4 separate regions of the Homo sapiens genome follow, and all the other regions are linked to region 1. The links are contacts of gene promoters, found by promoter capture Hi-C in blood cells and fetal thymus (Javierre and others, 2016). All regions are on one chromosome and are shown on one strand. Each heading gives the region's core, a stretch centred on a gene start or on the middle of the fragment in contact. The rest is flanking DNA. Distances are from core to core; before and after follow the strand shown. Region 1 holds the start of HIF3A (hypoxia inducible factor 3 subunit alpha). Region 2 has its middle 35 kb from the start of IGFL3. Region 3 has its middle 33 kb from the start of IGFL4. Region 4 has its middle 12 kb from the start of IGFL3.

The links. Contacts are between HindIII fragments. The CHiCAGO score rates a contact against its expected background, and 5 or more counts as called.
Region 2: a contact is called between a fragment that was not itself captured here and the fragment with the promoter of HIF3A in region 1, in 2 of 17 cell types (M1 macrophages and M0 macrophages). The highest score is 5.6, in M1 macrophages.
Region 3: a fragment that was not itself captured here is called in contact with the fragment with the promoter of HIF3A in region 1 in 3 of 17 cell types (M0 macrophages, M1 macrophages and M2 macrophages); the score reaches 6.8 in M0 macrophages.
Region 4: a fragment that was not itself captured here is called in contact with the fragment with the promoter of HIF3A in region 1 in 1 of 17 cell types (M1 macrophages); the score reaches 5.1 in M1 macrophages.

What each region holds. Positions count from the first base shown.
Region 1 is chr19:46,295,115-46,298,481 of GRCh38, reverse strand. HIF3A (hypoxia inducible factor 3 subunit alpha) reads right to left here and starts at 1,440. Exons shown (of 15, transcript NM_152795.4): 1 at 1,380-1,440. The coding sequence starts at 1,405. The HindIII fragment of the contact is 1,538 bases long and covers 617-2,154 here.
Region 2 is chr19:46,088,280-46,091,871 of GRCh38, reverse strand. It overlaps a transcript of IGFL2 not described here. Among named protein-coding and RNA genes, the nearest start is that of IGFL3, 35 kb to the left of the region's middle. The HindIII fragment of the contact is 805 bases long and covers 1,050-1,854 here.
Region 3 is chr19:46,072,325-46,075,481 of GRCh38, reverse strand. It overlaps a transcript of IGFL4 not described here. Among named protein-coding and RNA genes, the nearest start is that of IGFL4, 33 kb to the right of the region's middle. The HindIII fragment of the contact is 2,700 bases long and covers 340-3,039 here.
Region 4 is chr19:46,111,148-46,114,764 of GRCh38, reverse strand. It overlaps a transcript of IGFL2 not described here and the pseudogene LOC100533846. Among named protein-coding and RNA genes, the nearest start is that of IGFL3, 12 kb to the left of the region's middle. The HindIII fragment of the contact is 1,616 bases long and covers 1,179-2,794 here.

The DNA of each region.
Region 1 (3,367 bases), core at 191-2,690:
CCAGGGGGTGCAGGAGGGGATGCGGTGCAGCCAGGACCCGGGTGCGAGTTACGAGTGGGTGCGCACGGCGGTGAGATGACTCCACAGGAAAGGGCCGGCCTTGGGTGGGGAGGGGGGGCACCCGAGCTCAGCCAAGAGGGGCCCCCACCCAGCCAGGAGGGGGCGCTGAGAGGGGCGGAACGACAGCTGGCCCAAAAGGGGTGGGATAGAGTTCCTTGTTAGGCCCAGAGCCAGGGCCTGGAATAGAGTAGGGGACAGGGGAGAGGATGGGGGCGGTTAGAAACATGGGGTGTGCATGGATCCAATCAGGCCTGAGAAGCCAGGGAGGAGGGAAGGGGGTGAGGCTTACTGGGTGCCTCACATTGGACAGGGAAAGCTGAGGACCTAGAACATTTTCCAGGGTCCCATGGGAACATGGCCAGATAAAACCCCCCGGCAGCGGCCCCAGGGCACAGGTTCCCCTGTGTTCCAGCAGAGCTGCACCTGCTGGGCAAGTGAACCCAGAAACCCACCCTCTGCCCGGGATGACCCCATCTGAGTACTGCGGCAGGGGGCGTTCCCATCACAGCCTGCAGGCTCACAGCACCCTGCCATGGAGTCTCCCCAAAATAAAGCTTGGATGAGGCTCCCCTGTCTCTCAGGATGGGGGTGCAGGGGTGAGATGAGGGGCTGGACTTTGGGAAGTGGGTCCAGCTTGTTTCCCTGTTATTTAAGGGGGTGACTCTGGCTTTTGAAAGGATACAAAAAGTCTCTTGGGAAGGGTCCCAGACGGCTTCTGAAAGGGGCTCCCCTCTGCCCATTTCTAGGGAAACCCAATGTTTAGGAGACTGTGTCAGGAAGCATACTATTAGAGGAGATCTCTCCTCTCTTGAACTCAGGAGCTGAATGCCATTCCAAGGGACTCCCTATATGTGGGAAGGCTCCATTTAGGGGTATCCCATATCACCTAGGATCCCAGGCACCTGGTGGCAAAGAATACCCTCAATTTTGGGGGGTTCAGAGGCCAGAGGGATCAATATGTGGAGGGCGAATATCTCCCGCAGAAGCCTGGGGACTGCTCAAATGCAATCACCCCTAATTTATCAGGAATCCCAAGTTCCACCCCCAACCAGGAGGGTAAATGAGCCTTGGGTAGCGAGAAATCGGGAACCCCGAAGCCGCTCTTGGCCAGAGGGGCGGGGCAGCCAGAGACGTAGGGAATCCCCCACCCCTGCAGTCCCTAAGGGTGGAGAGTGCGGTGGGGATGTGCCTCCAACTGCGCGCCCCGGGGCGTTCTTGGCTCGCACCCGCGAACCCCACCCCCCCCAACAATCCAGCTCAGGGGTCTCCAGGAGGAGAGCCCCCCAATTCCCAGAACTCCTGCCCCCGAACTTCAGTACCTTGCGCGCTGCAGCCCCAGCGCCATGGCTCGCCAGTCGCCGCTCCGGAGCCCTCGGAGGCCCCTAGCCCCCTCCCCGGCCTTGCGAGCCCCCTCCCCAGCTCCTCCCCACGCCGCGCGGTTGGCTGTGCCACGCCAGGCCTGAGGCTCTGATTGGGCAACGGTATGTCACTCCTGAAAAGGAGGCGGAACCAGAGGGAAAGACTTGGAAAGGCAAGGGGGGGATACCGTGTAATACACACCCCCCAACCACGCCCCTCGCCGCGGACTTCCTCGGCAGTGTATCCCGCACCGTCGGCTGAACGCGCCTTCTCTAGTCCAGCCTCTGAAGTGCCAACGCCAGTACTCTTCTGAACCCACTCAGTTCACTCTGCTCTCTGGACCCCAGTCCCCAGCCTCTAACCCCCACCTCTTCTCACCTTTCCATTTCCTAACCCCAGTTGAGCCCCTCTGACCTCCAATCCCACCCCTTCCAAACCCCTAGCCCTGCCTTCTCTATCCCTTCTAAGGTATTCACAGAGTACCCCACATCTCCTCCCCACCCCCCAACTCCCAACCCCACCCCAGTTCCACAATCCTTGGCCCTCTGGCACCTACCCTTCTCTCTCTCTCCCCAGCCCCTCCCTGCCACCCCAGTCCCATACCCCACTTCGCCCCCATTCCTCCAGTCTGCACCCTCTGCACCCCAGCTTACCTTCCCTACCCCCTCTACTCCACCCTAACCTCTTGGCCTCTCTGACTCCCTTTTCAGGTTCCCATTGATGAATAATTAAGCTTATGTCAAGTAAATATGTTTTAACTCAATCACACCTACTTCAAAAAAGAGCCGAGAAATGTATTTTTTTTTAACTAGTCGACTATGAAGGGAGAAGTACAAAGGTACCAAGCAAGGGTGAAAGCATTACAGTTGGATAAGGAACAGAGTGTGTGTGTGTGTGTGTGTGTGTGTGTGTGTTGGACCACTATTCTGGATTTGGTTGGCAGGGAAGAGGATACTACAGCAGAAGTGGCCTTGTTGAACCTTGAACTTGCCAGGCAAGTTGCTCACCTTAGGGCCTTTGCACTTGCTGTTCCCACAGCTTAGCACACTCTTCCTCCAGGAATCCACACGGCTCCCCGGCTCACGCCAGTTCCCCACTCTGTTTTCTTTTGGGAAACCACTTCTCTGTCCTCTTCATCTATTTAATTTGAATAGGGCTTGGCCACTGCTCTGCCTTCACCAGCTCCAGGGATGGACATAGGATCCAAACCTGGCTAATCAGTTGAGTCTGCTTCCCTGGCCACAGTGATTGGTTCAGGGAAGGCATGTTACCTAATTTAGCCCAATGAGAATCAACCCTGAGACATTTGCTGAAACCATTAGGAAAGAGGATTTTCTATGTCTGCTGGAATTGCTGGGCAGATGGAGCAGATGGGGCTCACACTGCCACAAAGAGAGGAGAGGCTTTATGAGATGAGGTTCAGTGCAAAAGAGATTGTGCAGAAATGAACGATTGTGAAAGGCAGTTTTGACACCAGCACTTGAGTGCCTGGATCCAGCCATACCTGAACTCCAGTTTAATTCTTGGATTTTTCAAATGAAACCCACAATGGGCTTTTTTTTTTTTTTTTTTTTTTTTTTGCTGTTGCTTTTGTCAAATATTGCTTCATTCACTATTGCCTTATTTGCTTTGTGCTTAGATTCGTTTGAATGGATTTTAGATACTTGCACCCAAAAGAATCTTGATAGAGAAATCAGCTTTCAACCCTCAGTGTAGAGGCAGGTGGGATGTTAGAAAAGGAGCAGTCTGAATTATAAAGGGGGGCCGGCCATGGTGGCTCACGACTGTAATCCCAGCACTTTGGGAGGCTGAGGCGGGCAGATCACCTGAGGTCAGGAGTTCAAGACCAGCCTGGCCAACATGGTGAAACCCCATCTCTACTAAAAATACAAAAATTAGCCGGGTGTGGTGGCACACCCTTGTAATCCCAGCTACTCGGGAGGCTGAG
Region 2 (3,592 bases), core at 203-2,702, 210 kb after region 1:
TATCATGCTGTTTGAGTTCATTTTTTAAAAATGCTTTTGTATTTGTCATTGAAACTGTTGAGGCTCTCAAATTCCATAGCTAATGACTGTGTTTCTTTAGCTAAATAATTCTTTCAACTAAAGACATTAAGTGCACAGTCATCTTTCAGCTCTTGTAGCTGCTTCTGTATATCAGCAACAAGAGTAAGAAATCAGAAACATTAGGACTCTAAGTTGAACAAAGGCTTTCATTTCATGGTAAGCCTGTTTTACACCTACAATGAATGACATCAGTCTTTCTTACAAAACATATTATAAATAAACTAGGATATAACAATAGGTTATCTCAGCAACAGAAATACAACTCCTAAGGAGAAACACAAACATGGAAAACACAAGTGTCTCTTCTAACAGAATAATTTGTATACTGATTAAAGTTTTTGACTGTGTACTAATTTGAAAGAAATATGTAGGCCAAGCACCTTACATGCCAAGCACCTTACAGAACTGAAGACATTCTAAGTAACAGTTTGCCTATATTCTTTCATAAATATCCCCACTTAATGGCCTCCTCACACTAAAACGTGCTGTTTAAAAACATAAATGTGGACCACTTCTCAGTGGAATCCTTCCCTAGATATCTACTTCTTACAAATGTTTTTCTATGAGGCTACAGGCATTTGGGAAGAAGGGCAGAGCAAGATGGTGCATTAGGACTCTCTAGTAATCATTGCCCACACGGAAACATCAATTTGAATGATTCATGCACAAAAATACCTTCAAAAGAGCTAAGGAAACCAGGTGAGAGATCACAGTACCTAGTTATAGCATAATAAGAAAAGATGCATTGAAGAGAGTAGGAAGAACAATTTTATGTCACCCAAATTACCCTTCACTCAACCCCAGGCAGCATAGCACAGAGAGAGATACATACTGTCTGCTTGGTGGAAAGAGAGGAAAGTAAACAAAATTTTGCCTTGGACCCTAATACTGGATCTTCCACAGTAAAACCCTGCATTAGGCAGACCCCTGCAACCGCTCAACCCATATCAGTACCTATGGACTAAGCTTCCAGAGCTGCCCGGGAACCAGATGGGAACCCACAGCCCCTGCAAGGCCAGCTCAATCCACAGTTTGCATCACTGCTAGCCTGGGCCCTGGGCTACAGACAAATCTTGGCAGTAGGCAGGCACCAGCAGCCACAGGCTTCAGGCATATGCCAGCTCTGTGCCAGCCTCAGAAGCCATGAGATTCCAGCCGGGCAACGTGCTTGTCATCACGTACCAGCATAGGTCACCCTCTAGAGTTGTAATGGCCACAGTGGCACAGAGATCACACCAGTCTGTCCAGGCTATCTAGACAGGCTTATTGTTGAAGGGCGTTCCCAGACAAAGCCAGTTTACAAAGACTGGAAATAAGTACCTACTTCTTAAAATATGCAGATGTTGACGTGTGGCCACAAGATCAAGAACAATCAGAGAAATATGACATTAGCGGGGAGACAAAATAAAGCACCAGTGACTAACAATAAAGAGATGGATAAATATGAACTCCTTACTAAACAATTCAAAATAACTTTTTAAAGGAAGCTCAGCAAACTTAAAGAAAATACAGAGAAACAATTCAAAGAAATGAGGAAAACAGTAAGTGGCTAGAATAAGAAATTTAGCAAAGACTGAAATAATTTTAAAAAACTCAAACAGAAATCCCAGAGCTGAAAAATACAATGAACAAAATTTTACATGCAATACAGAGTCTAAACAGCAGAACTAATCAAGTAGAAAAAAGAATCTGTGAACTTGAAGACAAGTTATTTGAAAATGTACCATCAGAGGGGAAAAAAGAAAAAAATAATAAAAAGAAATGAAGAAAGCTTATGGGATTTATGAGACAGCATCAGAAGAGCAAATGTTTGGGTCACTGGAATTAAAGAGGGAGACCAAGAGGTAGAAAGCTTATTTAAACAAATAATAGCAGAAAGTTTTCCAAACCTGGAGAAAGATGTAAATATCCAGGTACAAGAAGGTCAAAGGACTCTAGCCAGATTCAATCCAAATAAGATTACCCCAAGCCATATTATAAGTAAACTGCCAAAAATCAAAGACAAAGATAGGATCCTGAAAGCAACAAGAAAAAAGAAGCAAATAACATATAAGGGAGTTTCAATATGCTCACCAGCAGACTTCTCGGAAACTTTACAGACCTGAGAGAGTTCAAAGTGCAGAAGGGAAAAAAAAAAACCTACCACCAAGAATACTATACCCTAAAAGGATCTTCTTCAGAAATGAAGGAGAGATAAGACTTGCTCAGACAAACAAGTGCTGGGGGAGTTTACCTCCACCAGAGCCATCTTACAAAAAATGCTAAAGGGAGTTTTTCAAGCTGAAAGAAAAAAATGCTAATGAGTAACACAAAAACATCTGAAAGTACAAAATTCACTGGTAAAAGTAAGTATACAGTCAAATTTAGAATTATACTGTAACAGTGGTGTATAAATCACATGTATTTCACATGAAGGTTTAAAAACTATTAAAAATAATCACAATAATTTGTTAAGAGATATGCGACATAAAAAGATGTAAATGATTACATCAAAATTCAAAATACAAGGTGCAGAGCAGTAAAAGTGTAGAGGTGGGCTTTTTTGTTATCAAAGTTGTTATCAGCTTAAAATAACATATGATAACTATAAGGTTTTCTTGTAACTATAAAGTTTTTTTTGGTAACTACAAACCAAAAACCTATAGTAGATAAAAACACAAAAATAAAAAGTAAGGAATCAAAATATACTGCTAGAGAGAATCACTTAACCACAAAGGAACAGTAAGACAGGAAGAAAGAAACAAAGGATCTATAAAACAATAAACAAAATAGCAGTAGAAAGTCCTTACCTATAAATAACTTTTAAGATCTACCAGAGTCTACATTAGCGCCTTTAACCCAGTCATGTTCATAGAATGACTTCCTTTTCCTATTTCAATCCTTTATAGCTTTGCTGATTATTTCCTCTGTCTGGGACATCCTTGTTTTGTTTTGTTTTTCAATCTTCTCAAACCCCAATCAACATACAACAGTAGGCTATGATATTACTTCATCTGTGAGGTCTCAAATGACATGATCACTCCAGAAGAGCTCTAGATATGTCTTTATCTTTGTATTCTCATCGCCTCTTCTCACATTGTTTTGTAACTTCATTTATTGTCACCCAAATGCCTCAACTCCAGAACAGATATTATCTTGTTATTTTTATATTTCTAGTGCACAATTAAGCTCTTAATATATAGAAAGTGTTCAATAAATCTTTGTAAATCAATGACAAGAAGCTGAATGGAAGAGTTTTAATTTCTGGTTAGCAGTTAGCCAAGTAGATGAATGATGGCACCATTCAACAATATAATGAACACGAAGTGTAAATATATATGTTACAATTGAAGGTTGTGTCTTAAATTTTAGTTGTTTTGATATTGAGACTCAGTGGTGCTGAATAAAGTCTGACAATTAAACATATGGGTTCATTAGTTAGTACAGAAAAAAAGCCCTTATCTTAAATAATAAACAATGTAAATGGATCAAATTATCCAATCAAAAGACACAGAATAAAGGAAAGACTTTA
Region 3 (3,157 bases), core at 440-2,939, 220 kb after region 1:
CCCTTCAGACCCTGGTAAGGATCTGAAGCATCTTGTGCCAGAAAATAAGCAAGTTCCTTACCAGTACTGCTCATAACTGTGAAGGTCATCAAAAACAAGGAAAAATCTGAGAAACTGTCACAGTCAAGAGGAGGCTAAAGAGACAGGACAACTAAATGCAATGTGTCCTGAATAGGATTCTGGAACAGAAAGAGAACATCTGGTGAAAATGAAGAAAACCTAGATAAACTATGGACTTTAGTTACTAACGGGGTATAAATATCCTTTCATTAATTATAATAAAATACTAATGTAAGAAGCTAAAAATAGGGGAAGCTGGTTTCAAGGTATTTGGAAGCTTTTTATACTAGCTTCTTAATTTTTCTGTAAATCTAATGCTGTTCTAAAAATAAATTATTCTTTAAACTATTGAAAACTCTAAGTGGTAGGTTTAAGATAGCCACAAATTCTTTCTGTTCTTCCCATTGAAAGGTGGAATTGAATCCCTTCCTCTTCAATCTGGGCTTACCTTGTGACTTCCTTGACCAGTAGAATGTGGTGAAAGTGTCTTGATTTCCATGTCAGGGACATGATTTTCATCAGCTTCTTGGAATACTTGCATGCGGAGCTTGGCTTCTGTAATGGTTAATACTGACTGTCAACTCGATTGGATTGAAGGATGCAAAGTATTGATGCTAGGTGTGCCTGTGAAGGTATTGCCAAAGAAGATTAACATTTGGGTCAGTGGGTTGGGAAAGGCAGACCCGATGTTAATCTGGGTGGGCACCATCTAATCAGCTGCCAGCTTGGCTAGAATAGAAAGCAGACAGAAAAATGTGAAAAGACTAGACTGTCTCAGCCTCCCAGCCTACATCTTTCCCTCATGCTGGATGCTTCCTGCCCTCAAACATCGGACTCCAAGTTCTCAAATATCAGACTCCAAGTTCTTCAGCTTTGGGACTCGGACTGGCTTCCTTGCTCCTCAGCTTGCAAACAGCCTATTGTGGGACCTTGTGATCCTGTGAGTTAATACTATTTAATAAACTCCCATATGTGTATATATACATACACATATATACATATGTAGATATACATACATTAATTATAATAAGTATACATATACATATATGGGAGTTTATTAAGTAGTGTTAACTCACACGATCACAAGGTCCCACAATAATAAGATATATATATGTGTGTGTGTATATATATATATGTATATATATATCTCCTGCTCGTTCTGTCCCTCTAGACAACCCTGACTAATACAGATTTCTTGGGAGGAAGCCCAAGTAGCCCTGTGGAGGCACTAATATGAAGAGGAACTAAGACCCCCCTAGCCAATTCCCTGAACTGAGCTCCCAAATGACACCCAGCACCAGTTTCTCAAGCACATAAATGAGCCATTCTGGAAGCAAATCCTCCAGGCTCAGTCAGGCCATCGTAGCTAACACTGTGCGAAGGAGAAATGAGCCTTCCCCACTGAGACATTCCCAAGTAATGTATTAGAGAAGGAAAGAAATGTTGATTTTTTAAGCTACTAAGAAAGGAAAGAATATGCCTTGTAATTATGTGCCATCAATCAAGTTTTTCAGCAAAATCATTTTATGTGTTACAATAATTTGGCTTCTCATTACAAAAAAATACTTTCAGTCATTCTGACCATTCTATCTTTAAAGACTTCCAGTGTCCAGAAAAGAAGTTGAGATTGTGAGTCTATAATCCAGGATTGAGGATCCTGACTGTAGAAGAGAATGTGATGTCAGAGTGTTGAGATATTTGCCAAGTTCTCGAGAATGATCCCAGAATGATTCTCTGTCAGGGAAGTTCCAGGCAGCATGGACTGGGTGGAAGAGTGCTGTTACTCTTGTGTTAGCAGAGACTGTGCCAGTTCAGTCTCTGGCCATTTTTCTGGGCCACATAGGGTGTGGTAACTTTGTCTCCCTTTGGTTACGGGACCGCATCCATCACACAGAGGGCCTAGACCTGGTGCAGCACCTGGCTGGTTATCTTGTGGGTGATAGTGTTATTCTGCTAGGGCCCCAAGGCTTCCTATGAAACTACATGTGTATGAGTCAGACATTATACCCCAGGCTAGAAATAGCTCAAGGGAGCTCCAGTTACATAATATTAAGGAAAGAAGGAACTCTAATTGCAATTACAAGAATAAGGAGGCCTATTAGGGCATCCTGATCATATCTTTAGTGAGTGTTCACTATCACTATCATGATAGTATTTTGTAGGTATCATTTAAAATACTTTTTAACCTGCCATTTTGAAATAATTTTAGATTTACAAGAATGTTGTAAAGCCAGTACAGAGTTTTGATCTTTCACCCAACTTCGTCTAATGTTAACATCTTAAATGATCCTAATACAATTATTGAAAGTAGGAAATGAATGTTGAATCTACAGGCTTTATTTTAGTTTTGTTGGTAGTCCCCTCCTGTCCACTTCCTGCTCCAGGATCCAATCCAGAATCCCACATTACTTTTGATAATGTCTCCTTTGTGCTCTCCCAACTGGGATAGTGCTTTGTGTTTTCTTGAGTCTGTATTTCTCTATTTGGTATCCATTAACTACGGGGTTTAACTCATGGCCAAAGGTATCTGCATCTCCCCCGAGATCCAGAGCCCCCGCTCTGAACCATCTCCTTTATCTCTCTTACACACCAAGCCAACATTTTCTCTGCCCTAAGTCAACCCAGGGCCAGGTACCAGACAACTAGAGGCTGCCACTATATTTCACACCCTGCCAATATTATTCAAACTGACCAGTTGTGAGCTGCATCTCCTGCCCTGTTCTGCCTTTCCCACAGAACACATCATAAGGGCTCTGGCCTAGGTTTTTGCTCACTCCTGCCTCTGTCTCCTGATCACACCTGGGGCTTCCCCACATGCCCCTGCTTCACATTCTGTGCCTCTAATTTCTACCGAAACTGTGAGTGACATTAAACATATTTCAATGGCATTGGCATCTCCCTGTCATTACCTCCATTGATTAAAATCCCATGGGTATAAATGAGACAAATACTTCTTAAGACTTACCTCTCTGCTAAGCTTTGGGTGGTCTAGAATGTGCATGTGCAGACCAGTCTTCATCCAGGAACTTTGGTGGACCCCACGTGGATTTGGGGGGCTCGCACTTCTTCACTGATGCCACACCTAAGGGATTCCAGT
Region 4 (3,617 bases), core at 737-3,236, 180 kb after region 1:
TTGGCTGGGAAGGTCTCTGGAAATTTAAAATCATGGCAGAAGGCAAAGGGGAACCAAGGCGTATCTTACATGGTGGCAGGAGAGAGAGAAGGAGAAAGTGCCACACTTTTTAACCATCAGATCTCAGGAGAACTCACTCACTATCACGAGAAAAGAATGAGGGAAACTGCCCCCATGATCCAATCACCTCCCACCATGTCCCTCCCTAACATGTGGGGTAATTCAAGGTAAGATTTGGGTGGGGACACAGAGCCAAACCATATCAGCACCCATGACTTTAATAAATGGAGTTCGCCAATAACTTCTGTGAAAACAAAGACTAACCAAATAAGAAAGTAAAGGCTATCTATTCTACAACAAAGAAGTCAGCCACCATCACTTCCATTTTGGGAGAGACTCAAAGACCAGCAGAGGAGTAGGAAAGCTTTATAGTGGAAAAGGTATCACCCTTTTTTTCGCATGTTCCCTGATTGGAGGCTGTTGGCATGGGGAAGCTGAGGATAGCTAACTAGATGCACAGCATCCTATGGGATTGGTTTAGGGTACGTATTTGGCTTTCCTACGTTGCTCCTAAGTTAGAAACAGGAACAAAAATTTGGGAAGTTGTCAGTTATTAATAAAGTCCTGGCCATTTGGAGCTGACTGTTACTGGAGTTACTGTTTAGTTTCCTGGATTGTTACCAGAGAAAGTCTGACTTCCTACAAGTGTGACTTACAGCAAGTGGCTTCCTGGGCTGTTTATTGTAGAAAAGTGGGTTGATTTCCTAGGCAGGCTGCTGTAGGTTATGGGTCAGAGTTCTGTTTTTATATGTGGTCTGGCCATTGTCTGTATATTTTGTCTCTCATCTCTAAGAAATACAGCCATAAACCAAGCTCTTTTTGTAACACAGAGCAGAACTTCAATACAGGGGACTGCTTTCTTCATTATTGCTGTCATCTATTTATTGCTGTTTTTTGACAGTGATGATCTCAAGGCTAAAACGGCTGAACACCCCATTTAATTAGGGTAGTTCAGGGCTCTAACTTACATGCTTTACACAACCATTGCCTTCTTAGACATGGCAGATAACAAGCATGGAATATTATTGCTAGTCTTGGCTTTGTGGTGTAAAGCTGGTTTTCATACAGCTCCCAGAAAGCTCTCTATAGACATCAGTGGAGCCAAAAGTCTTCAAGCTTTATCCCATCTTATTTCCTGCTTCTCTTGTGCCCATGGGTCATTGTCTTTCCTGTGACAACTGAGGTTAAAGATAAATCTTGGATTTCTCCCTTTATGGCTTCCACAATGCTTATCTTCTTTGTCGTAATCCTGGATATCTACGTGGATTCCATTTGTTCAGTCAAAATGGAAGTTTCCAAATGTCCCCATGATTGATCCTTTCCTGTTTTTATTAGTGCTTTGGAAATTTCTGAATACATCCAACAACAGTCTGACTTCAGGCTATGAACAAAATGGCATACCAGGAAAGTGCAGAACACATCCTGTCTGGAGGAGTGATAGTGAGTACTAGGTCTTCATTTTGTCTACCAACGTCTTTTCATCTCCCTCTAAGAGAGGACGGAACGCTTTTTGCCTCTGTAGAATCATTCTATGATGTGTTGACCAGCAGTCTGGGTCTCATCTCAGATGTATTTCACACACTCTATGACAGATGTGTTTTAGTCATGATATTTATTGCTGCCCTGATGAAAAGATGGAATGCAATGGGATTTTTCTCCTATGGGTGCACCCAAATAGAAATTCTCTCTCAATTTATTAATAGACTTTTTCTTTTCTCCAAGAAAATTCCATTTGTATTTCAATTGGTATTAAAACAAACTTACAAGTGTTTTGAAGGAATTGACCTCTTTCCTAACATGCACCTTTCCACTCTGAGCAGCAGCTCTAATGTACTGTATTTCCTTGACACCATTACCAAGTATGAGCCACATCATCAATTTGATAGCAGATTTGTAAAAACCAAACCAAAACATTACATTACATCCAGAATGTGATGATTCTTCCAAATCACTTTCAGCCACTGGCAGCCATCACAGCGACAAGCTGTCTACTCCCACTCCTCCTCTGCAGGCTTAAGCTATTAGAAAATCTATTCTCTAACATATTTGAAAGTTCTAAGGTCAAACAAGTTTTAGGGCTGTTTGATTCAGCCACTCATCCATGTCCTCAAGGTCCCAGCTTGTGTTCATCTATGCTTTGTGGTCCTGACTGTACTGGTTTCGCCTCCAGGCTCCTGGCACATGGATGGAACAGTTCTGGTATCACATCCAAACACAGCAATGTCCAGAGATCCAAAGAGATTCTCAGTCTTTTTCTTAGGAAGGAGGGACCTTCCTAGAAGCCCCACAGCTTTTTTCCTTTCTCATTGGAAAAACAGGGTCACTAGTCCACTCTGAAACCAATTTCTGACATGGGGTGGGGGCCACTATAATTATTTAAGGCCAAACAGAATGTACCCTCAGGTGGTGGTGGTGGTTTTTGTCATAATTGCAGATCTTGGACCTCCAAAATAAATGTGAAGCACAACAAAGAATACTTGCCTATTAGTTAAATTGCCTAATTTAAACTCTCAGTTTTGTTGAATTACTATTATTGGAAATTAAACTGCCTTTTGAAAGTTAGCTGGGAGCTTCTGACACACAGATGTTCGGCATCTCAGGGATAATTCTTCATAAAAGGAATAAACTGGTCACTCCAATTTCTCCTAGCTTTGAAAGTCGTAGAGTCTATTCTGCAGGACTATTTAATGAAGCAGTTTTGAATGCAACAGGAAAAGTTCCATGTAACAAAGCTTTCTGTTTCACCATTTCATCATAATGTAATCTTTTTTATTTGTACAGACTCGGGGTGTACATTTACAGGTTGTTACATGGATATACTTCATAATGGTGAGGTTTGGGTTTCTATTAATAGATTTTTCTAATGGCAAAACTTGTTTTTGTGTTAGTCAGTGGTTCAATTGATCCTCTAGGACTAGATACACATATTAACACCAGTCTCAGCTACGGGGCTGGTAGTAAACCTGATTGGTATCTATGCCCATAACAATACCTATTGAGCTACTCAATGAAGATGTGACTCATCTAATCATAGCCATTAGTATCATATACGTGGACACCATGACTGTGAAACAGTTACAGCCATTAATGAGGCATGAGTGCTAGAAGAAAGATGTATTTCCATATGTTTTGGCAGACACACTTGGCAATGTGGGTGTGATCATATCCATTATGCTCACAGAGCGGTGTGGGTGGCTTATTGCTTAACTCTTCTATTCTCTTTTTATTGCCATATGAATACCTCTCAGTGTTGTCCCATTAATTAAAGATGCCTGTCAGTTTATCAGGTCATCCTTTTGAGACTACCACCAGAATATCCAACAGATATACATACTTATTTTAAAAACTGAGGCTTCATATTACACTGAGACCTTCACTTTTTGATATCATTCTGCCACTATTGGGACAGGACCAACTGATATAGAGGTGACATCCAATGTGCTGGAACAAAGAATGGTACTGCAAGTTGTAGGAGTAAAGATGCTAGATTAAACAATTTAACAATTCAAGTGGAAAAAGGGTTACTTTCAACATATGTCTGATCTAAGAACTGGATT